4 separate regions of the Homo sapiens genome follow, and regions 2, 3 and 4 are each linked to region 1. The links are contacts of gene promoters, found by promoter capture Hi-C in blood cells and fetal thymus (Javierre and others, 2016). All regions are on one chromosome and are shown on one strand. The core of a region is centred on a gene start or on the middle of the fragment in contact, and the rest is flanking DNA. Distances in the headings are between cores, read along the strand shown. Region 1 holds the start of ANKRD1 (ankyrin repeat domain 1). Region 2 holds the start of HECTD2 (HECT domain E3 ubiquitin protein ligase 2). Region 3 overlaps PCGF5 (polycomb group ring finger 5). Region 4 holds the start of LOC124902480 (a long non-coding RNA gene).

Region 1 (5,176 bases), core at 2,243-4,742:
AAGGAGTGTTAATAACAATAAAATTTTATGTGCTATAAAATGCCTTTTTAGAAAATAAAAATGCCCATTTTAAAAAAACAGCCTACATGTCCACAAATGAGAAAGTGGTTAAATAAGAAATGGTAGGTCCGTGCATGGAAATTCATGCAGTTGTTTCTAATAGCAAGATAGATTTGTTTGTGCAGATAGGAGACAATCTGTAAGACACGGTTACTGAGCGAAAAATAATCAAGTATCAAATCGACAGTAAGATCTGAACTAAATAACATTCTCTGTGCTATTTTTAACAATAATGTGTCTATTATATAGTTAAAATATAAGAATGAAAAGTTGGAGTAGAAGTAGAACGTCTGGAACTTCATATTTTATACAGAAAGATAAAACTGCCCTTGGACTTGGAGCTGAGCTATGGCACATGGATCTGGGTGGGGTCCAAGCGCCTCTTTTAATCCCTAGGTGACAGCAGTAATTGCTTTAGGTGCTACTTCTCTGCTTCTCACTTTCTCCAGCTATAACCATGGTCCTAATTCTAGTCACATGTCATTTCACCCATGGAAATGCATAAATCCTGAGGGGAGTGGGAAAAGGCTCATGGGGTGACACTGGAGAAGCTCAGGGATGCTTCCTTTACTCTTTCTGGTTGGAGATGGGTGATGCCAAGTTGCTTTATGATTGTAGAACCAACTAGGACCTTTATTGTTTTAATTCATCTTAGTAAGGATAGATTATGTCCAGATTGAGGCTATGATAAAGCCAAATACACAAATATAAGAATTTACACCACTGGGTGAACTTTTATGGGAAGGATGCTTCTGAAAAACAAATGACAGAAAACTCTCCGCCAGGGGAATTTTTTTCTCAATTTTGATGAATAAGAACGATTTGAAAATACAATGGTTGTTGTTTTTATCTTTTTAGAGAGCTAAAGGTGCCTAGAATCTCTTTTCAAAAAGCAGATTCTCTCATGTTTTTTTTCTTTATTTGTTGTCATATTCTTTTTACATCTTCTGACCACTTATCCTCAAGTTGTACCTCTCATGTTTTATAATGACAAGCTGGATCAACATGGGAAAAGGTTGAACTGGCAGTGATTTCACCAGCCCTGACATCCTTGCATCCACCAGCGTGCTCCTTTAAGTTCAGCCCATTCCATCAACTCATCTTCAAGTGTCATCCTCTGCAAAGTTTTCTTCAAGACTTCCTGGAGCCTCTCTATAGAATCAGCTAGGTTTCAAGGGATAATTAAATGCCTGGAGAAAGAAAAGGGCTTGGTAAGCCTCCCTGCCCACTTTCACTTGCATTCTTTGAGGTGATTGAAACAGTAAGGAGCCATTTAATCAGTTTTGGTTGCATCCTGAGTGGGTCTAGGTGAGACTTGCCCTAGGAAATCTTTTGGGCTCAATGATTGTCTGCTTCTGTTGGATGGAATCAGGACTCTTCAACCTAGCATTCACCAACTAGCTGTGCATCTGCAGCAAGTTACTTAATGTTTCTTTGCCTCAGCATCCTCTCTGTAAAATGAGAGCATTAGTCTTGCTCCAACTTCGAGGGCATGGACAGCTCTGGGATTTCATATCCAAGACCCTTAAACATCCCACAGTCCTTCCCCCAAACACTTCTCCTCCTAATACCTCCCTCAGTTTGGGTCAGGCCTGGAACAAAAAGGCATACGAAATGGTAGAAAAAGTGTCCATGACTACTTCTGACTTAGATGAAGAGACCAATGAAAATAGTAATGACTCTGTTTGCTTCAGCAGGACATATACTAAAATAGGAGCTATACAAAGAAGATTAGCATGGACTCTGTGCAAGAATGACACACAAATTTGTGAAACATTCCATATATTAAAAATAAATAAATAATAAAGAGAAAAGGAAAAAATTAAAAAGAAAATAGTGATAGCTGTGTCCATCTCAAAGAAAAGCCCAGGAGATTTCCTTTAATTAACCCCCTTTTAAGATAGAATATTAGGAGACCGGAACATATGATACAGGAGGTACTGGGAGGGTCCCTCTTTGTCAATGTTTTGTCTTGGGGTGGGGAGTCGATGTCTTCTCAAAGTTTCAGAAACACCATCCACTGACTGAGCATTCAAGGGGGAAGAGGAGAATGGCAGCCACATTTGTTGATTGGGTGAGTTTGGGGAGAAATAGACACACAAAGGTCAAACATAACTTCCTAATTAACACTTCCCTCCATTCACAATTCCCTTCTCCCATTCTTCTCTCCTTTCTTTTACTGAAAAAAACCCAGTTTTTCCTGAAACTATAAAAAGACCCCAGTATTTTTACATAATTTACACCTCAAAGATTAGAAACCAGAAATAGAGACCTTTTTCAACCCTTCCGGAAGCAAAGTGCATTATCCCTCCAGCCACGTGTCTCAAATCTTGATGCATCAGAATCATCTGGGTGCTTTGAAATTCAAGATGATTCCTACGAGTTACCATAAATCAACTCAGAATTCCCTGGAGTGGGGCCCAGGGATCTGTATTTCTGACAAGCTCCCACAGGTGATTCCTTTCCCCACAGCATTTGAGAACTTCAGCTCAATGACCTAATCAGAGTCCTGCCATTGCTAATAACTGGTCTCATTTTTTTCATATATATATATAGTATTTTTGGTAGAGATGGGATTTTGCCATGTTGCCCAGGCTAGTATTGAACTCCTAAGCTAAGCAATCTTCCTGTCTCTGCCTCCCAAAATGTTGGGATTACAGGTGTAAGCCACTGCACCCGGCTGATAGCTGGTTTCATTTACTCTATTTCTTGACCACTCTGATCCATTTTGAAGTAAAAATGCTCCAATTATTATGCTGTTTTAGAACACGGTAAGCATGTCATGTGCTAATTATGGCCAGTGACATCATAAAAGAAAAGTGCATTACTGAATGCTTTCAATTTCTTATAATGATGGTAAGGTGGCATGTCATGGGGCCTATTTAGCCCCAGACATCACTCCAAAGAATTCCAAACAGATATAGACAAGTGCCTTTAGGGCCCAGATCCCTTCCCCTCAGGCTGTTTACCCAGGGAATAGGATGTCCTGGGACAAGTTTCCCCTAAGTGAAGTGTTGATAAGTCTGCTTATCAGAAAGATATTACTGGGGGTGTGATATGTAGGGCATCTACATTTTCTTGATAGGTAGTCATATGAAAGCTGACAAAGAAAAAAAGGGCAGTGATGTGGTGCAATGTCAACAGACAGCTGTCCCCTGACTCTTGACAAATAGGATGACTTGCATTGCTGAGCGATGTGATCACCACCAAAGGAATGGCCCTCTCACATTTCTTCCTGATTCACATATTCAGCAGGGTTAGCTTGTCCTCCCCTCCCTCTTCAGCTTCCCAGACACTGAGTCTGGAATGAAAATTCACCTGCCTCTGAGTTGGCTCCTAATGGGGGTGGGAGTGTTACTTCGGTTCCCAGGTTGGAAGATTATCTCACCCGGCCCCAGCTATATAAGCTGACCGGTGTGGAGGGGCCCAGCAGGGCCAACTCCAGGGATTCCTTCCACGACAGAAAAACATACAAGACTCCTTCAGCCAACATGATGGTACTGAAAGTAGAGGAACTGGTATGTAAGATGCATTAATTTTATAAAATGAAAACTGGTTCATCTTGGTTTTTATTTGAAAATTGAAATGCCCTTTGCTTTCAGGTGTAATGCAAGGGAACTCTGAAAATGTCATATATGGAAAAAGGTTGATGTGATGAAACAAGTGAAATTGGAAAAAAAAAATGGAGCTACCAGTAATGAATTCTCTGCATATTTCCTATTTAATATCTTCTCCTTTGGTTTTATTACTACAGTGTGGAATCACGTGTAGTTATCAAAATGTCTTAGGGAAGAAGTGTTATTGAAAGAATGTAAGCCCGGAAACTTTACAATAAGGCGAAACTCATCAAAAGTACCTAAAGTTGAGTTTTAATTAAGCAGAGAAGGTTTTTGATTTTCCTAAAAGAAATGTGATTAAGCAGATTAAAAGTAGATTTAATCTGTCAACCTAACCCAAGCTTTGATTTAACCAAGAGAGTAGGACAAGCATCTGAAGGTAATTCTGGGACAATTGTAGCAGTGTGCATCGCAGCTTGAGATCTGAGAGTGCACTGCTCAAAGGTGGCTGTTCCCAGGGGAGAAGGACCAAGAGCCTCCTGCGGCATTGTCTGTGAAGAATGACCCAGGACGAGGCTGCTGCTTCTGACGCTGCCATCTTCTTCCCTCATAGGTCACTGGAAAGAAGAATGGCAATGGGGAGGCAGGGGAATTCCTTCCTGAGGATTTCAGAGATGGAGAGTATGAAGCTGCTGTTACTTTAGAGAAGCAGGAGGATCTGAAGACACTTCTAGCCCACCCTGTGACCCTGGGGGAGCAACAGTGGAAAAGCGAGAAACAACGAGAGGCAGAGGTGAGAGCCATCTGTGGAATCCACTAGTAGGATGTTGGGGCTGGGGTAGGGAATGGAAATGTCAGGGAAGGAGAAGAGAGAAACAAACCCAATCATTAAGATGTCTCTTTACCAGATTCTAACCCGTAAAGAGGCAACTTGTATGGAACAGGTTTTGGGAAATAACTCTTTGACAAGACTATGACCTCTGAATTCTGAATCAATGAATAAATGTGCTGTGACCATGTTTTGATTGAAAGATACACATGTCCAGTGAATTCCTGATGTTACACACCATGTAGTTAATCCCAAGCAACGGAGATCTCTTTTTCTCAATAACATGGTCTGTGGTCCATAGATCATTGTTTAACTGTCTGCTATCTGTGTTGACACAATCTGTGTTTCTGGGTGAATTTTCCTTAATTACTAACACAGATAAAATTTGCTTTAGTTAGCTGTGGTCCCTGGACAGTCTGTTTTAGAAGGCTCTGCTTAGTGAAAGAGAATGACATTGATATTTCAGAGCTTAACATTTATTGTTAGATTCTTTTTATCATGCTCAAAAATTAAACCAAGTTTTGAGCATAATTTTAAAAATCCTTTAAAAATCTAAGACTTGCTTATGGCATTAATTACAAAGTCATCACTTAGAGACCAGATCGTGTCCTCAATTGGTCAAGGGCTGATTCTACAAGCAACAGAAGTAAAGATGATGGCAATTAGCTGAAAATTAGACTCCCAGATAAATATCTGAATAAGAAATCCCTAAAATGAAGTCAAAGATTTA
Region 2 (5,176 bases), core at 1,168-3,667, 490 kb before region 1:
CTACACTTAAGCTTTTCACTGCTATTAGCTCTGAATTCTAGCTTTGAAGTCTCTCTTTGACAAATACACACACACACACACACACACACACATTCTGCCACAGATCCTGTCATAAATTGTTTTTTTTTTTAAAAAATAAATAATCAATGGTACTGACTCTGAAAGACTTTATAAGGCACAAGCAAGGCTGAGGCAGGAGAATGGCTTGAACACGAGAGGCAGAGATTGCAGTGAGCCGAGATCAGGCTACTGCACTTCAGCCTGGCGACAGAGCAAGACTCCGTCTCAAAAAGAAAAAAAAAAAACCCTCAAGTTTTGTATATTTATCCTTATCCTCTTCTATTCCAACTCATACCTTTTCAAAGTTTAATTCAAGATTTAAATTTTTTTCTTGAATATATTCTTCTCTTTGTCTAGTAGTACAAGTCCATAATCCTCTATTTACAATTTCAAAGTCCTATAAATTCTTGAAACTGAAGTGTCTTTGCAACTCATTTGGTGGCAAAAACATGCACCTAATCTGAAATGACATGACGCTACTGACTTTTTCCCTTTAGCATGAACACATAATTTCATTACAGTTATTAAGATGGTTGATTAGAGAGAACTGGCTAGGACCTTACTGTGGGTATTAAATAATATATGATATATGTACCGAATTACCTTTCTAAAATCTGAAAAACTTGAAATCCCAAAGCAGACTGTAGACTTGTATCCACACTTGCAAATTCCAAAACGGCAATTTTTCAGTTATGAGATGAATAGGTTTTTGGGAGAGCGTTTGCTTGAGGACCTAAACCCACTCATTTAACTGTTTCTATAAGTACATACATTTACTGTTTTAAACAACCAACTTAGAAATGAACTGCTGGAATTCTGTGAGTTAAAGACTTCCTATATAAAATCTGAAAACCTAGGGTACCAGCAGCAGGAACCAGGTCTCCAAGCAGCTGGGTGACAAATTCCTTCAAAGCATTTTCTAGGGTAATCCCTAACCCCAGCTCCAATCTACCAATCAATTGTAGCTACGCTTTTAAACGTGTATCATTACTGTTCGCAATTTGCTGCATTGATTTAAAGAGCTTGTTTTAACAATTTCCAGTTATCAGGGCCCTCAGACATTTTTGAAAAACCTACCGAATCCGAAAATTATTCCTAACACCAATACAGTACTTAACGAAGAGTGAGCTATTTTAGTAAGTTCTTAGTCATTTAAGAGGGAGGTTTTAAGAAATGAACCGCAAGTAGGAATAAAGAAAATGTATAATGTTCACTAAACTTTTACTATTTTGTCACACACAGCTGCATGACAAGTCATGATCTTTAAATATATCAAAGCAAACTTTCAAAAAGTACTTAAATATTATGTCAAAATAAAAAATTGCAAAATCCGAGGTTTTTTTTTAAATTGTGCTTCAAATTAACCAGTCACAACCACCAGTAAAAATAGGGAAAGAGGGGGAGGGGGCTGTCCCATGACATCATCTGGCAATATGTAGTTTGAAGCCTGACAGCGCTCTCCAAATAACCCTTACGAAGATACAGCTGGGAAATCATCCCTGTCAAGCTTAGATAACTTGGGTTTAAATAAAAGGTTCAAAAAGCCTCCCCCCACCTGAGTCACATGTCTGTACCATATGAAAAATAAAACCATCACTGATGCATCTACCTCCCACTACACTGACAGCAACGGAAAGGTCACAATTAAGTGGAAACTCGCCGCAGAGCCTGTTTAATCTGAAGGGGGAAGGGAAAGAAAAGCGAAGAAAAGGACAAAAATCTGCGCGCCTCCAAGGCAGGCAGGCAGGCAGGCACCTCCGTGGAAAACCCACTCCCGCCTGCTGACACCTATGCTCATCCAACAGATCATGCCGACTCAAGATGCAGGTCATTCTCTTAGAGAAAGTGGGGGCCCAAGCCCCAGAAAATAACCCAAACATCCAGCGGAACCGACCACCCCCAACATTTCCCGAGGGTGGTAGGTGTACCTCGCGAAGTGTTCGGGGCTGTCCACGAGGCACAACTCTTTTATTTCTGCCCAAGGAAGGGCGGCCTGAGTGCGTCTCCCTGGAGTGCCAGGGCGTGCCCAGGGTAAACGCAGGCCTCCTGACGGCCCTCGCCCGGCCGCCGTCCCTCCCAACTCCCGCCGTCCGGGGCGCCAGACGGCCCCGGCCCACCACCTACCGCGGTCGCGCCGGCGCCCGCCGATACGATGGGCGGCAGCTTCTCGCGCTCTGACTCCTTCCCTTTCCTCTCCTCAGGCGCGGGCGCCGCCACCACCAGCGGAGTGGCGGGCGAGGGTACCCGAACCGCCTCACTCATGTCGGGCCGGGCGGCGGGAGCGCCAGGCGGCGGCGGCGGCCTCAGTGTTGCTGGGGCTGGCGCTGCTGCTGCCGCCGCGGCCGCGAGAGGGCTCTGGGCTGCCGCTTCTAGCCGCCGCTGCCGCCGCCACTCCGCCCCCGCCCGCGCCCGCGCCTTTGCGCGCGAGCCCGAGGCCGCCCCCGCGCGCGCCAGCCCCGCGGACGCGGCTCCCCACAGGTCCCACAGGTTTCTTGCTCTCGCCTCCCCCGCCCGCCCGGGGCTCGCGCGTCGCGGGTCGGGAGCGCCGGCGGTAGTCCCCCTCGTCAACCCCGAGGGCCCGGAGAGAAGGCGCCACGGTCGACGCCCGACCGCCATATTGTTTGCAGAGTGTCGCCCGAGATGACGAGGAGACCCCGCACCCGGGCCGCGCAGGAGAACCTGGACTAAGGACGGGCAGTCGGGGAGACAAGTCGAGCCCTGCAAAGGGTCGGACGGGGATAGAGTGTCCGAGTGGTACCAGTAGGGCAGGACGTAGGCACAGACTACCCTTCACGGACGGCCCTGGCCTGCGGCGCCGAGTCCCGCGGGCAAGCGCCCTCGGGGTCTGGGCTGGTGGCCTTTCGCCTTCTTCCAGGCGCCCACAAAGCTGTCCGCCTTGGGGCTTCTGCCTTCTTATCCTTGCCCGCCCTCCTGAGCCCAGGAGAGGCGGCCCGGAGCTTGCGCAGCCCGGGGAGACAGCCTTCCTGGCTCAGCAACCGACTCTTTTGTACACGCCTGGATGGCTTCAGCCTACACAGGAAAAGCCTGGAGGTGGGGAGGAGTGCGACGTGGTGGGCCCCCCCTTTCCCCTTCCCCCATAGGATTGGACGGCCAGTCCACACTTTCCATTCCTGTTCCTCTCGTCCCTCTTTGACTGCCAAATCCGCCTCTCCCTTCCCGTCCCCACGCGCCTACGTTTTGCTCTCTCCCCGCAACCCTTTGCTGTCTCCTATCCGTCCCTTCCTTGTTCCTTTCCGTTTATGTTAGAGATGTACATACCCAAACTCTGCTGCACAGTCCTCAATCAAATCATTACAAATAGGAGTAAAAACTTGAAAGCCGAAGAAGAGAGCTTTTAATTATGAAATTAAAATACCCCCCACCTCCACCACCAGGACACCTAGACAATTTCCTTTCCTTTCTTGTCGCCCCCTCCTTTTCCTTTTTCTCAGTCTACTGGAGCGGCGGGGACACCTGCTGATCTAGGAGAAAAGAGAGTAAGAATGCGCTGTATCGCCTGTTAAAAGCAAGGAATTTCGATATTCAGCTCTATCAGATTTTTTATCTGTGCCTTCATTATTTTATTGGAGGTTGAGTGAATTTTTAGATCAAGAGTACCTAAGTCCAAATATAAGAACCAAAAATATCTCTGAAACAAACCCAAATATGATTTCGGGGTATCTATTGTTTACATAATTTGGAGTTATTAGTATAACTAAATACTAGTTATGGTGCATCATGAGATAAGGTTGCATGTTTTCAAACCCACAATTTGTAACAAGTAGATCTGAAGCAAACAATGTTGCCTTCTAAATTTTGAATTCTGACTTTCATTTATAGAAAGGCTTTCTACTTTAATATAGTTGCTGTTGCCACCTATTTACTTGTTAATTAACAAAAGGTATAGAATAAGTGCCATATAGTCAGCAAAAAGTATTTCAGTGCTAATAGCCTTGGAGGGAAAATGATGTATGTCGGCATTACTTTGAAGCATCCTCCTCCTTTCTATTAATATTTTTCTAAATTCTTTTTCAGGATTTTCTTTCCTTAAAACTACTGAAATACTCATCCCATAGAGAGGAACATAACATTATTTTCTGCTTTTAGCAGGTCTGTATGCTGATCATGGATACAGGAACAACTCAAATGTTATTTTATAAAATGAAGCCTTTATTTTAGCTGCAATTTCAGATATTCTGTGCTAAGTCTAGGTTGATAGAACAAATACTAGAGGGAAAAGTATCCTCTTTCCTATTGTTTTCAACTAGATTTAGTAATTTGCTATAAAAATGTTTGGATGAGAAACCACTTGGATAACAGGCCTTCTGCTTTCTTTTTTCATGTGTGAGACTAAATAAAAGTGTGTCTGTACATGTAGTCACATTCAATAGAACAAACTGCTTAAATATTGGCAAAACAAGGCAAGTCAAAAATGTTAATTTCTGCTACTGCACCAGAGTAGATAACCCATTTCTTAACAAATTCTCTGATTAATTAGCTTGTGAGTTCCATGTAAAAAATGATAATTTGTTCATGTTTCCTTTGACTTCTTATTAAATAAATGTCCTCAATCCACCACCTCATCCCTCCCTCATACATAGTCCAGGAGGGGGCTGGAGAATGGGAATGGGGCCTGCTGGAAAGCTGTAGAATTATAGCTCTGGGGGAACTCGTGGTGTGCTTGAGAGACACATTCCCAACTGCCATCAGTGTGCTTCTGGAGACCCAGGTGGGAGAAGAGAGTGTTGTAAAGCAGGACATACAGAGAGCTCTGGCCATTCTGTACAGAGGTGTGGAGAAGATGCTTTTTAGCTATGCCAAGTGTCAGACGTGCAACAGTGAGGGTATCCAAGTATAAACTCATTCGCTTTGGAAAAACTAGGAGCGAGGCAGAAGAAGCATTTCATGTTTCTAAGTCCAGATGGAAGACCTGAGCTCATTAATTATACCTATGGGGAATAGGGTTTGGCAGGGTGGGAGTGAGGGTTAGAGAACTCATTATTTCCCTGGAAGAAAAAGAAAGACAAAATTACAAGGTAATGGAAGGTCGAAATTATAGATAACTTCTATTTTAATTATGTATAGTAATACTAATGTAGTGAACAATAGCAAAATA
Region 3 (5,176 bases), core at 885-3,384, 350 kb before region 1:
GAGAATCACTTGAACCTGGGAGACGGAGGCTGCAATGAGCCAAGATCGCACCACTGCATTCCAGCCTGGCAACAGAGCAAGATTCCATCTCAAAAAAAAAAAAAATAAAATGTAGTTTTATTTTTCTACATTTTTAAAAGAAATTTGAATGCCCATTCCTCTATAGCCTCATCAATAATGAGTACTATCTTTCCCCACCTCTTAATTTGGCAATTTAATAAGCATAAGATAGTATTTTTTTTTCATTTCTTGACTGCTAAGAAAGTTAATCATTTTTATATGTTTATTAGCCCATTGTGTTTCCTTCTTGTGTATCTTGCCTGATCATGTCCTTTGCTCATTTTTATGAAAAGCTGAGCTTTTTCTTACATATTTGTATGAATTCTTTATGTATTAATAACATTAAACCTTTTTCTATCATACATTGCAAATATATTTTATGATATTTTTGCCATGTGCTTTTAATATTAATAGTCAATTCAATTTTTTTAGGTACAACGTGAAAGGCCATCCCCACTCTGAGATCAGTTCTTCAACTATATTTTCTTCTTGATCTTTTATAGTATCATTTAAAATATTTACCATTTTAAGCCATCATAAACCTATACTGATATAAAATGTGAGGTAGAATTGAATTCCCCACCCAGTCTCAGTATAATTAATTAAAAATAAGCCCTACTAGATCTGCACTGTCGTGCTCCAGCCCCACTGGCCTCCTTGCAATTCTCAAATAACCAGACATAATCAATTCTCAGGGCCTTTGCAGTGTGTTGCCTCAGGCTTCAGTGCTCTACCTCAGATATTCACATAGCAACGTCTCTCAATTTCTTTTGATCAACAATCCACCACCTCAAAGAGGGCTTCTCTTGGCTATCTTATTAAAACTATTCTATTTATCTATTTTACTTTTTCTTCTAACACTATAAATTTTAACCTGTTTATTTTTTGTCTGTTACCATCATTAGTGTAAGTTCCATGAAAGAAAAGATTTGTGCTCATTTTTACTTCTGTAACCTCGAAGGCCTAGAAGACTGCCCAATGCATAATACTCAATAGGTATTTGTTAAATTAATCATTTTACTGCATTAATTTGAAATACCCTCTTTACAGACTCATACATACTAGGGTCTGTTGCTGAGCTATTCTTTTTATTCATATGTCTATGTTTAAGGCAAGACCTTATTTTAATTACTTCAGCTTTAAAATATGTTTTAGTATGTGGTAGTACACATTCCCTCTCATTACTCTTTGTAAAAACATGACTGATCGAAGCACCTGCTGATATTTCCTTATGAGCTTTAGAATGACTGACTTTGTCAAGTTAAACAAAGATCTGGTAAAAGTGTGTTTGGAATTACATTTAACTTTATAATTTAATTGTGGGGTGAACTGGCATCTCTATAAAATGTAATGTACTATTACATATATATATACATACACAGATTGATTAATAAGGAGATGAGAAGAGAAAGAGAGGGGAAGAGGAGGCAAAAAATGTGGCAAAATGTTAATTGATGAATCTAGGTAATCATAAAGAATATTCCTTTGTATAATTATTTCAATTTTCTGTTGTTTTGAAAAATTTTTCAATAGGAAAACATCAGGACTTCACATTGAATTTTATCAAACACCTTTTCAGTATCTACTGATGATTTTTAACCTAGAGTATATATGTATAAAATATATAAAATGTATAAAATATTTTATATTATACACTATATAATATACACTATATTATACACTATTATAATACACTATATTAGTGTATTATTTATCATCTACTTATATTCAAAATCAGATTTGGTACCAGTTTTCTAATTGTGGGTTCTCTGTCAGTTTTTGCTATTAAGAATGGCAAAGTGGAAGGATTCCACCTTTTCTAATGATTAACAATAGATACAGCATAGGAATGATATATTCCTTGAAAATTAGAGAGAATTCAGAACATAAAACCATTTAGTTATCCTTTCAGGAAGTTAACGGTGCATCCTATTAGCTACAAGTTCAATTTCCTTACAGGACTATTAATGAAGACTATTAATGAGCCATTAATGAGGTGTTGAAGGAAGAAGAGGAAATTTGTATGGATTTAGAAATTTGGTCTCACTCCAGTTTTTCTCTAATACTTTGGATCATGGTTTAAGGACATCTTCATTTCTAAGGAAATACATAGGCATCAACACCAAGAGTAAAAGCAGAAAGACACATATTGCACAGGTTATAGCTACAGGCAGTGTTATCGTTACAATTCAGCATTCCCAAATCAGCCATGAGGCTAAAGCAGCTGAAACATCTATACACCTCGGATATACACAAATCTCACCAGCTCAGTTAAATTATTTACCCCAGACCCTTATCTGCATAGAGAGAAGAATGATCTTTCTCCCTCAGACTTGGCCTTCAGAGATGTTAAATTTACTTACTAGATTGCTGAAAAGCTAGGACTTAAAAGAGTATGTATCAAAAAGCACACATTTTAATGAAGGCACGAGAATTCCCATATCATAGCACTGACAAAAGGCTGAAGAAAATTCTAGATAAACTGCTAATTAAACATTTTCAATTAGCAATTTCAAGTGATTCTTTTAATGCTTAACATACATTCATTTGTCCCAACTCCAAAACTGTAACACTGGAGGTAAGTATGCCAGTTAAGTTTGTTATGTAATTACAATTATCCTTTCTCCCTGGCTCCAAGGAAATAAAGATGAAAACTCATTTAATTATTGAAATAAAAGAACGGTGGATTTTATTATTTTATTATTTATTTGTTTGTCTGAAACAGAGTCTTGCTCTGTCACCCAGGCTGGAATGCAGTGGCACAATCTCAGTTCACTGCAACCTCCATTTCCTGGGCTCAAGCGACCCTCCCGCCTCAACCTCCTTAGTAGCTGGGACTACAGGGGTGTGCCACCACACCCGGCTAATTTTTGTATTTTTTGTAGAGATAGGGTTTCACCATGTTGTCAAGGCTGGTCTCAAACTCCTGGACTCAAGAGATCTGCCCGCCTCAGTCTCCCAAAATGCTGAGATTACAGAGGTGAGCCACCGTGTCTGGCCTAAAAAAATAATTTTTTTTTGTCTTGCTATATTGCCCAGACTGGTCTCAAACTCCTGGCCTCAAGCAATCCTACATCCTCAGCCTCCCAAAGCACTGGGATTACAGGCATGAGCCACTATGCCTGGCCCAACAATGGATATTTTAAAGAAATGGTATGATTAATTCACAGGGTTAAGGCTGATCATCAATCACATCTGTACCCAACAATAATCTTTACTATACCCTTGTCTGTTTCCCAAATTTTTAAAATGTATCTTTATCAGATAAACTTTCCTCAGACACATGTTCAACTTTTCTTAGTGCATTACTAAATTAGCTCACTATCATTTTTAAAGAGGTAACTCAAGTAAAGTACTAGGGAAGGGCTAATAAGCAAGCTCATAATTAGAATCAGCTGTTGCTGTTATTTAGCTTCACCTAATTTGGCATTTTATATTTCACTTGTGGTTGAATGATTCACTGAAAAATAACATTCATACAAAGAAAGTAACGTCTCAAAATCCAATATGGAGTAGAGATTTCTCAAGGACTGAAAGTAGTAATTATTAAAAATTCCTGATTCATAAGTAATAGCCTTAACATTTCTAATTTTTTAGTTCAGTAAAATTAAATAGATAATTCAGGAGAACTAAAATAATGGGAAATCTTGGGTATATAAGTTGAAAAGATAAGTTTTTGTAGCTCCAGTAACAGTTTTACAAAGTTAAATGTCTTAGGAATTGAGTTTGGGATGAATGTGCTCACCGCCATGGTGTCATGATGGTCATATGTACAGTCGTGAGTGCCTCTTACCTGATACAAAGGGCCATCCTGAGAGCAGACTTGCGAAGCTGAGCAGTTCAGACACCGAAACTGCGGAGGAGATGAACTCATCAGATAAGAGGCATCCACAACTGGACACATATTTAAAATTGATTATTTAAAATAGTTTAACGTCAAACACAAGAGTCAACATGATTAATGGTAAATAAACACTTTCCAAAAAAATGGTGGTTGTTTTTGAAAAAAAGATTTTAATAACTTAGTAACTGGTAAAATTTAGCTTGAAGTAATTTTAGCATCTAGATGAGTTTTGTTTAATATTCTGCAAATGCAAAAATGGTGGCCTCTCCTTTCCATATCCTTTACAAATACTATTTCCTGGGAAAATCTCACTTCTTGCATACACGAGGGACATCCTCTTTCTTCCATCCCTTCCTCTGATCACTGTCTCCTAGATCTCTTCTTCAACTTCCCCTGAAAGTAATACTGTTCAAGGAAATCAGAGCTCTGGGAGGGACGTGGAACTCCGCTCAACCTGTAAGGCATCTATTTTCTGTTTTATAGTAGGTTCTTTATGTTGCTTTATATTGCTGATTATATATATATTAGATTATATATATATATAGCATTAGATCTATATTTTAGTCACATTTGTGGTCTTAATAGCTAAGGCCCAGAACTGGCATATATCAGCCATCAGATGTTTTATGAGTAAAGCAATGAGTGAACACACTTTAAAACTATTGAGTAGATTCATTTGTAAACCTACTACTTTAAAACAGTTTATTCACATTTAAAAAAATCATTCCCAAATCCTAATTCTTAAATACTATGCTAAACTCTTATTAAATGTAATTTTAATTGTAATTGGACTACAAAACATAAAATGTATACTTTAAAATTATGCATATATGAATTCAACATTGCATACTTTTCAAAATGGAAAAAATTAAATACATAAAAAATATAAGGTACAAATTAACCAGGATATTTCTAACATAGCAAAGTAGGTTTTTAAAAGATATACTTTGAAAGATTTAAATAAGCATTGATTAAAACAAATATATTTGTAGCCTTTTAAATAAAATTTAAGGAATTTTCTATTTTCCCGAAATACTTTAGTAATTTTTTTCTCTAGCAGTCAGTCCTTGATTTTAGGTACAGTGTGCATCAACATGCTGTAAGGCGGGCTCAGCTCGGCTCTCTTTTAGCAACCTTCTCCTTTCTCTCCAAAGAGTCCCCAAGCTCTGGTCCATCAGACTTTGCATAACATTGAGAATTCTAAACAGGGTCAACAAGAGTAAGCTGGAAAGTGGCAATTTCACTAAGTGATTCTTTTTTTTTTTTCTATTG
Region 4 (5,176 bases), core at 1,212-3,711, 280 kb before region 1:
AGCAGGATGGCACATCTGGTTCAATGTAATACAGGAAAGACTGAAGTGTATACAGTCAATGAAATACAGAATACTGAAATAAGATTGCTAATTTAGAAATAAAACTAGTTACTATCCTATAGGGCAATAAAACTATAACCTTTGGGGTTATCTTCTTTATCAGACAGAAGTCATTTGCAGGGGATCAATCTACAAATTAACATCTAACTTCATAGAATCTGGATCCTAATAAAAAGTAAGTTAAACAAAGGAACACTTTCCTAGAGAATTACATGATCCTTGGCTGGTGTCTTAAGTGCTCCAAGAAAACGCTAAAAAGACATGCAATCATCCTGTGCCTTATTCCCAAATGTTGGATAATTTTCCTAAACATTTTAATATGCAACAAAACCTTGGCTATACAAAGCCCTGCTGAATGGGTTAGTCTTGATAGTGGCATGCTCTAGAGACCTAAATTAGCCCTTAAAATGCTTAGTACCAAGGGGTTTGCTGGTAGATTGTGGCTGAACACTTCCCCTGCCCCTACCTCCATCAAGGCTGCAAAGTCACCATTTTTGTTTGTTTGCTTTCTTGCTTTTTTAAATCATGTTTGGCCTGTATTCTGCATCAGAAAATTTGCTGCTTACCCTGTATTGTTTTTAGTCATTTTCACAAACACATTTCTTTACTGTTTTTCTTCCTTTGAAAATATCCCCTCATCTGAACATTAATCATGTCAACCTTTTAAGCAAAGAATGATCTAACTCCTTCAACATAAATACATCTAAAAGTTGAGTCACAGTTTGATAGTAAGCATATTATATAGCATAAATGGCCAATCTTTTCGCCTAACTACCCCTTGCCCCAACATTAAGAAGCACATTGAAAATAACTTACTATTTAAGATCAATAATTAGTTAATAACCTCTATTTACTGAAACCAATTAAGTACAAGAAGGAAGTTTTCAAGGCTTCTAAGGAGTCAAATATAGTAACAACTTCTGGCTGTATATTATATTACAGTATCCCTCATTTAGACTCTTAATAATTAACAGTAACGATGACTACTATGCAATGACTACTCACTATGTGCCAAATACTGTGCTAAGAGCTTACAAATTTATCCTATTTAATCCTCACAACAATCCTGTTAACTACTTTGTATTATTTGCCTCATTTTTCAGAAGAATAAACTGAATCACAGGGAATTAAATTAACTCTCTCAAGGTCACAATGGTGGGTTTTACTGAAATCATTAGGTTCACAAAAATTAATCAGCTTAAAACAATCAGATCACAACGGTGGTGGATTCAAATCCAGGTTATTTTGCTTCAGAGTCTATAGGCTTAACCACCATACTACATCAAAAAAGACAGAAGAACCATAAAAACAGATACATCGACCATCATCATCATAGCACTTATACAGCACATTTTATACGAAGGCATGGTTCTAAGCAGTGAACATATAAAAACTTATTTATTTCTCACAATAATCCTAGGGGGTGAGTACAATTATTCTTCTCAATTTGGGAAAGAAGAAATTGAGGCAAACAGTGGTTACACCTGGTCACAATGCTAATAAAATGCAAGGCTTGGATATAATCCTGGACAGTGTAGCTCCCAAGTCCAGGACCCTCCCTTGATGCCACCCTGCTTCTTCTAACAATTTCAAAAGCATAGTGCCAGTAAACAGTCCTAACACTTCAGAAACTCTGAGGTTGGAAATCACCACATTAAAGCACAGAACCTTAACTAAATGTTCATCACTATGATCAAAAGTCATCAAGAACAGATTAAAAGGTTTTCATTCAGCCTTGTTAAGAAGGCAAAAAAGTAACACACTTAAACAAAATTTCATCCAAGATGGGTTTCTTAAAAAAAAAAAAAAAAGGTTTTCTGGAAAATGAACTCAATACAGAACAAATGAGGTGTTACAGTAGTGTTAAAAAATCTTTCTGCAGACATTGTTTTTGTTCTTGCTGCCTTGGGGTTTCTCAGAATTCCCTCAGGGGCTGTGGGTGGAGGGAGGAGGGGAGAAGATAGTTCTCCACTCCACCTTCAAACACATAACTCTGTTTACGTATTTTTTTTACACATTGGGCTTCCTGGTAAGCTTTCACTTTGATGGGACCTAAGCTCCTGTTTATGATTTGAATGAGTTCCCCAAATTTCATGTGCTGATAACTTAATCTTCAAATTCATACGTTGATGGCATTTAGAGGTGGGGCTTTGGGAGGTAATTAAGATTAGTAATGTCACTGGGGGGACCATGATAGGACTAGTGGCTTTACATGAAGAGAGACCTGAGCTGACACACTCAGCCCCTCACCATGTGATGCCCAGCTCAGAAGGTTGCAGAGGGTCTCCACCGGCAAGAAGGCCCTCACCAGATACCTCACCCTTGGATGTCCCAGCCTCCAGATACGTAAGCAATACATTTCTTTCCTTTATAAATTGCCCAGTCTCAGGTATTCAGCTGTAGCAACAGAAAACAAACTAAGACAGCTCCCATGAAAATGTGGTCTAAGTGGGCAGCTCTTCTCACTTTTATAAAACTTTCCCCATCACCTCCCTGGTGTCTCAGGAGTTCCACTTCACACTATTTTTCCATTTGCCTCTTGAATCTTGTGCTTGCCCAAGCTCTGACCATTCTCCCACCTGACCCTCCCCCTTTCCACTTCCCTCTGTCAACAGTAATCACGAACACAGCTAATGTTATCAACCTCCTACACAGCAAGCTCTAGGTTAATATTTTTACATCAATTACTTCATTGAATGCTCTCAACACCCTTATGAATTGGGTTCTATAATTGGCCCCACCGTATACAGGAAGAAACCAAAGCTTAATTTGCCCACTGTCCAATGACCACAAAGTGATGAATATAGGATAAACTAGATTGCCCACTAGAAAGGCCCCCAACTCTTCACCAGTACACAATCCTGCCTCTCAGCCTCTGCCAATTATGTTCAAATCTCCCACTGAGACTGTGTTCAAGACTCAATATCTTAAAAACAAAACAAAACAAACAGCACCTTCCCTTCTGGCACAGTCCCTTATAGCAGCACCTCAACAATGACAAATGCAATGCACAGCTTTCAATGCAATCTCATCCATACCTGTTGATATTAATGCTTATAAAATCTTCTCTTCTTCTTTCAAACATATATGCGCACTTCCCAGAAAGGGGCTACATCCCCTGTTCTTTCTATACCCTCACTCTCTCTTAACTAGATTAGTTGAACAATTTTGGGCACCGAGTAGGAAGATATTAATAATCAGCATAAAGAACCCTGGTCAGTAGTCAGGATACCAGAGTTCTGGTTCAGTTTCAGGCAATCCCCTATAGCAGACACTGTCACTGTCTCCTCCTCCCTCTTATCTCCTCCACGCTCATCTCTACATGCTGAAGGCAGCCTTCTTGAACACCTGTGGCTTTTATTCTGGCTCTGGGAGCAGGCTGGGCCCTCTCCCACAGTGAGGCAAAAATGCAGGGAAGTTAGCATCTCCAGGAAACAGCCCTCAGTCAAGGAGGATGGATAGTTGATGGGCAAGTAACCCAATTTCCCTGTCCTTTGGGTAGGATAGCCTGAAGCGTGTAGACTAGTTCCTAGAGTTCCTTAAACGGATTGAGCTCCAGTTGCCCACAGCAGTAATTCTCTTGAAACTATACCCTTTATTGCTTTCTTTTTCCTCCCTGTCCCACTTCTCTACTTTCCTGTTGATATTTCTTGGGAGAACCTCTCAACTAAACCACTTACTCTCAAATTCTTGTCTTGGGGTCTGTTTCTGGGGAAACCACACTAAAATTTATTCTCCTTTGTTTATTTACTCCACTTCCCTATCTGTCAAACAAGAGGGTTGCATAAAGGATTTTTATGGCCTCTTTGGACTCTAACATCCTAGGATTTCAATGAACTCAATCAAATTTCAGTATTAAACTAAAACTAGCCTTGAATGTTACTTCTTAACTAAAATACTGCATCATATTTTGGAGCCGTGGCTGAATTTCACGTACATTAATGTGGAAGATGCTGGGAAGCAGAGATCAGATCCCTCTTCAGAGAAGCCTTTGGGCTGCACTTGATGGGGATGTTGTTGGCCTCTTGCAGGCATGTCCTCAGCTGCAAAGATCCTCCTTGCCCAAGGTCACTTTCCCAAGGATGCAAGGACTGAGGGATGCTGGAGTATAAAGGCCTGGCCATCTTGGCCCAAGTCAAGACAACTCAGAGGAGTCATTCTAGTTCCAGAGCTCCTGCCATGCTGGCTCTACAGCTCAACTCCTTTTCTGCCCCCCTTGCTGCCTTCCCACCCTTCAAAGGGCATTCCCTAATAAACATCCTGGATACAAAACTACACCTGGGAGTCAGCTTCCCAGGGAACCCAACCTGTGACAAGTACATTTTCTACTTGTTTATTATGTCATAAAATTCACAGACTCTGGAACTTTGCTTGTGGAAGCAGGGATGATCCCTTGAATGCTGTAAGACCCAGAAAGTGGTAGAGACACAGAAGAAAAAACTAGGCTTTTAATAAAATGGGAGAGACAGATACAAACCAGCATGTATGTGATGCAGTTTCAGTTTCTGAACAAAAACAATAAATACATAAAAGGTCAGCATGGCCAGTGAAACTGAAAGCTAAGAACTCAGATGAGGCAATCACAGAGGGTGATGAAAGAGAAGAACATCTGAGAGAGGAGGAGAACAAGAATGGCCTGGCAAGAAAAGGAAGAAGACTAATACGAAACACACTCAGCCAAAGACCATGGGGTAGAAATAACCCATCTGAAGAAGGGCTCTTCATTGCACAAAACTACATCCAATCCTTAAGAGGTACTGCCCCGTGGTATGACAAGGCCAAAACGTCATCCTGGCAATTGCTGCTAATTAAACTCAGGATTGATTCAATGCTACTGAATAGGCCAGGGAGATTCCCATGGTGCTGCCACTAATCAGGGCCTTTACAGAAAACTCCCAAGAAGATCGAAGGACAGAGACAAGCTTGAACTCTGCAGCCCGTAGGCAGGTCTGCCTTCTAGAGAGAAAGCCAGTGATGCTGCTTTGCCAATGGTCATGCTGAAATAGTGGTTTGGGGTGACCTCCAGGAGAGTAGGGGTACTAGGGGTAGGTAAGGAGGGTGACTGAAATTTAAAACAAGGTGTCAGCAAAGGCATTAGTGAGAAGATGGCATCTGG

What was found. Contacts are between HindIII fragments. The CHiCAGO score rates a contact against its expected background, and 5 or more counts as called.
Region 2: a contact is called between the fragment with the promoter of HECTD2 here and the fragment with the promoter of ANKRD1 in region 1, in 1 of 17 cell types (M1 macrophages). The highest score is 6.3, in M1 macrophages.
Region 3: a contact is called between a fragment that was not itself captured here and the fragment with the promoter of ANKRD1 in region 1, in 1 of 17 cell types (neutrophils). The highest score is 7.0, in neutrophils.
Region 4: a fragment that was not itself captured here is called in contact with the fragment with the promoter of ANKRD1 in region 1 in 1 of 17 cell types (fetal thymus); the score reaches 6.1 in fetal thymus.

Annotation. Positions count from the first base shown.
Region 1 is chr10:90,919,403-90,924,578 of GRCh38, reverse strand. It overlaps ANKRD1 (ankyrin repeat domain 1), which reads left to right and starts at 3,492. Exons shown (of 9, transcript NM_014391.3): 1 at 3,492-3,578; 2 at 4,231-4,410. The coding sequence starts at 3,552. It also overlaps the pseudogene RNU6-740P. The HindIII fragment of the contact is 5,392 bases long and covers 1-4,020 here.
Region 2 is chr10:91,407,585-91,412,760 of GRCh38, reverse strand. It overlaps HECTD2 (HECT domain E3 ubiquitin protein ligase 2), which reads right to left and starts at 2,417. Exons shown (of 21, transcript NM_182765.6): 1 at 2,185-2,417. The coding sequence starts at 2,322. All of the region lies in intron 3 of HECTD2-AS1 (HECTD2 antisense RNA 1), which reads left to right. RefSeq lists a silencer at 2,061-2,650 and an enhancer at 2,801-3,010. The HindIII fragment of the contact is 4,522 bases long and covers 1,570-5,176 here.
Region 3 is chr10:91,270,375-91,275,550 of GRCh38, reverse strand. It overlaps PCGF5 (polycomb group ring finger 5), which reads right to left. Exons shown (of 10, transcript NM_032373.5): 9 at 3,854-3,913. Among named protein-coding and RNA genes, the nearest start is that of PCGF5, 52 kb to the right of the region's middle. The HindIII fragment of the contact is 8,912 bases long and covers 1-5,176 here.
Region 4 is chr10:91,198,419-91,203,594 of GRCh38, reverse strand. LOC124902480 (a long non-coding RNA gene) reads left to right here and starts at 5,117. Exons shown (of 3, transcript XR_007062240.1): 1 at 5,117-5,176. It also overlaps a transcript of PCGF5 not described here. The HindIII fragment of the contact is 729 bases long and covers 2,097-2,825 here.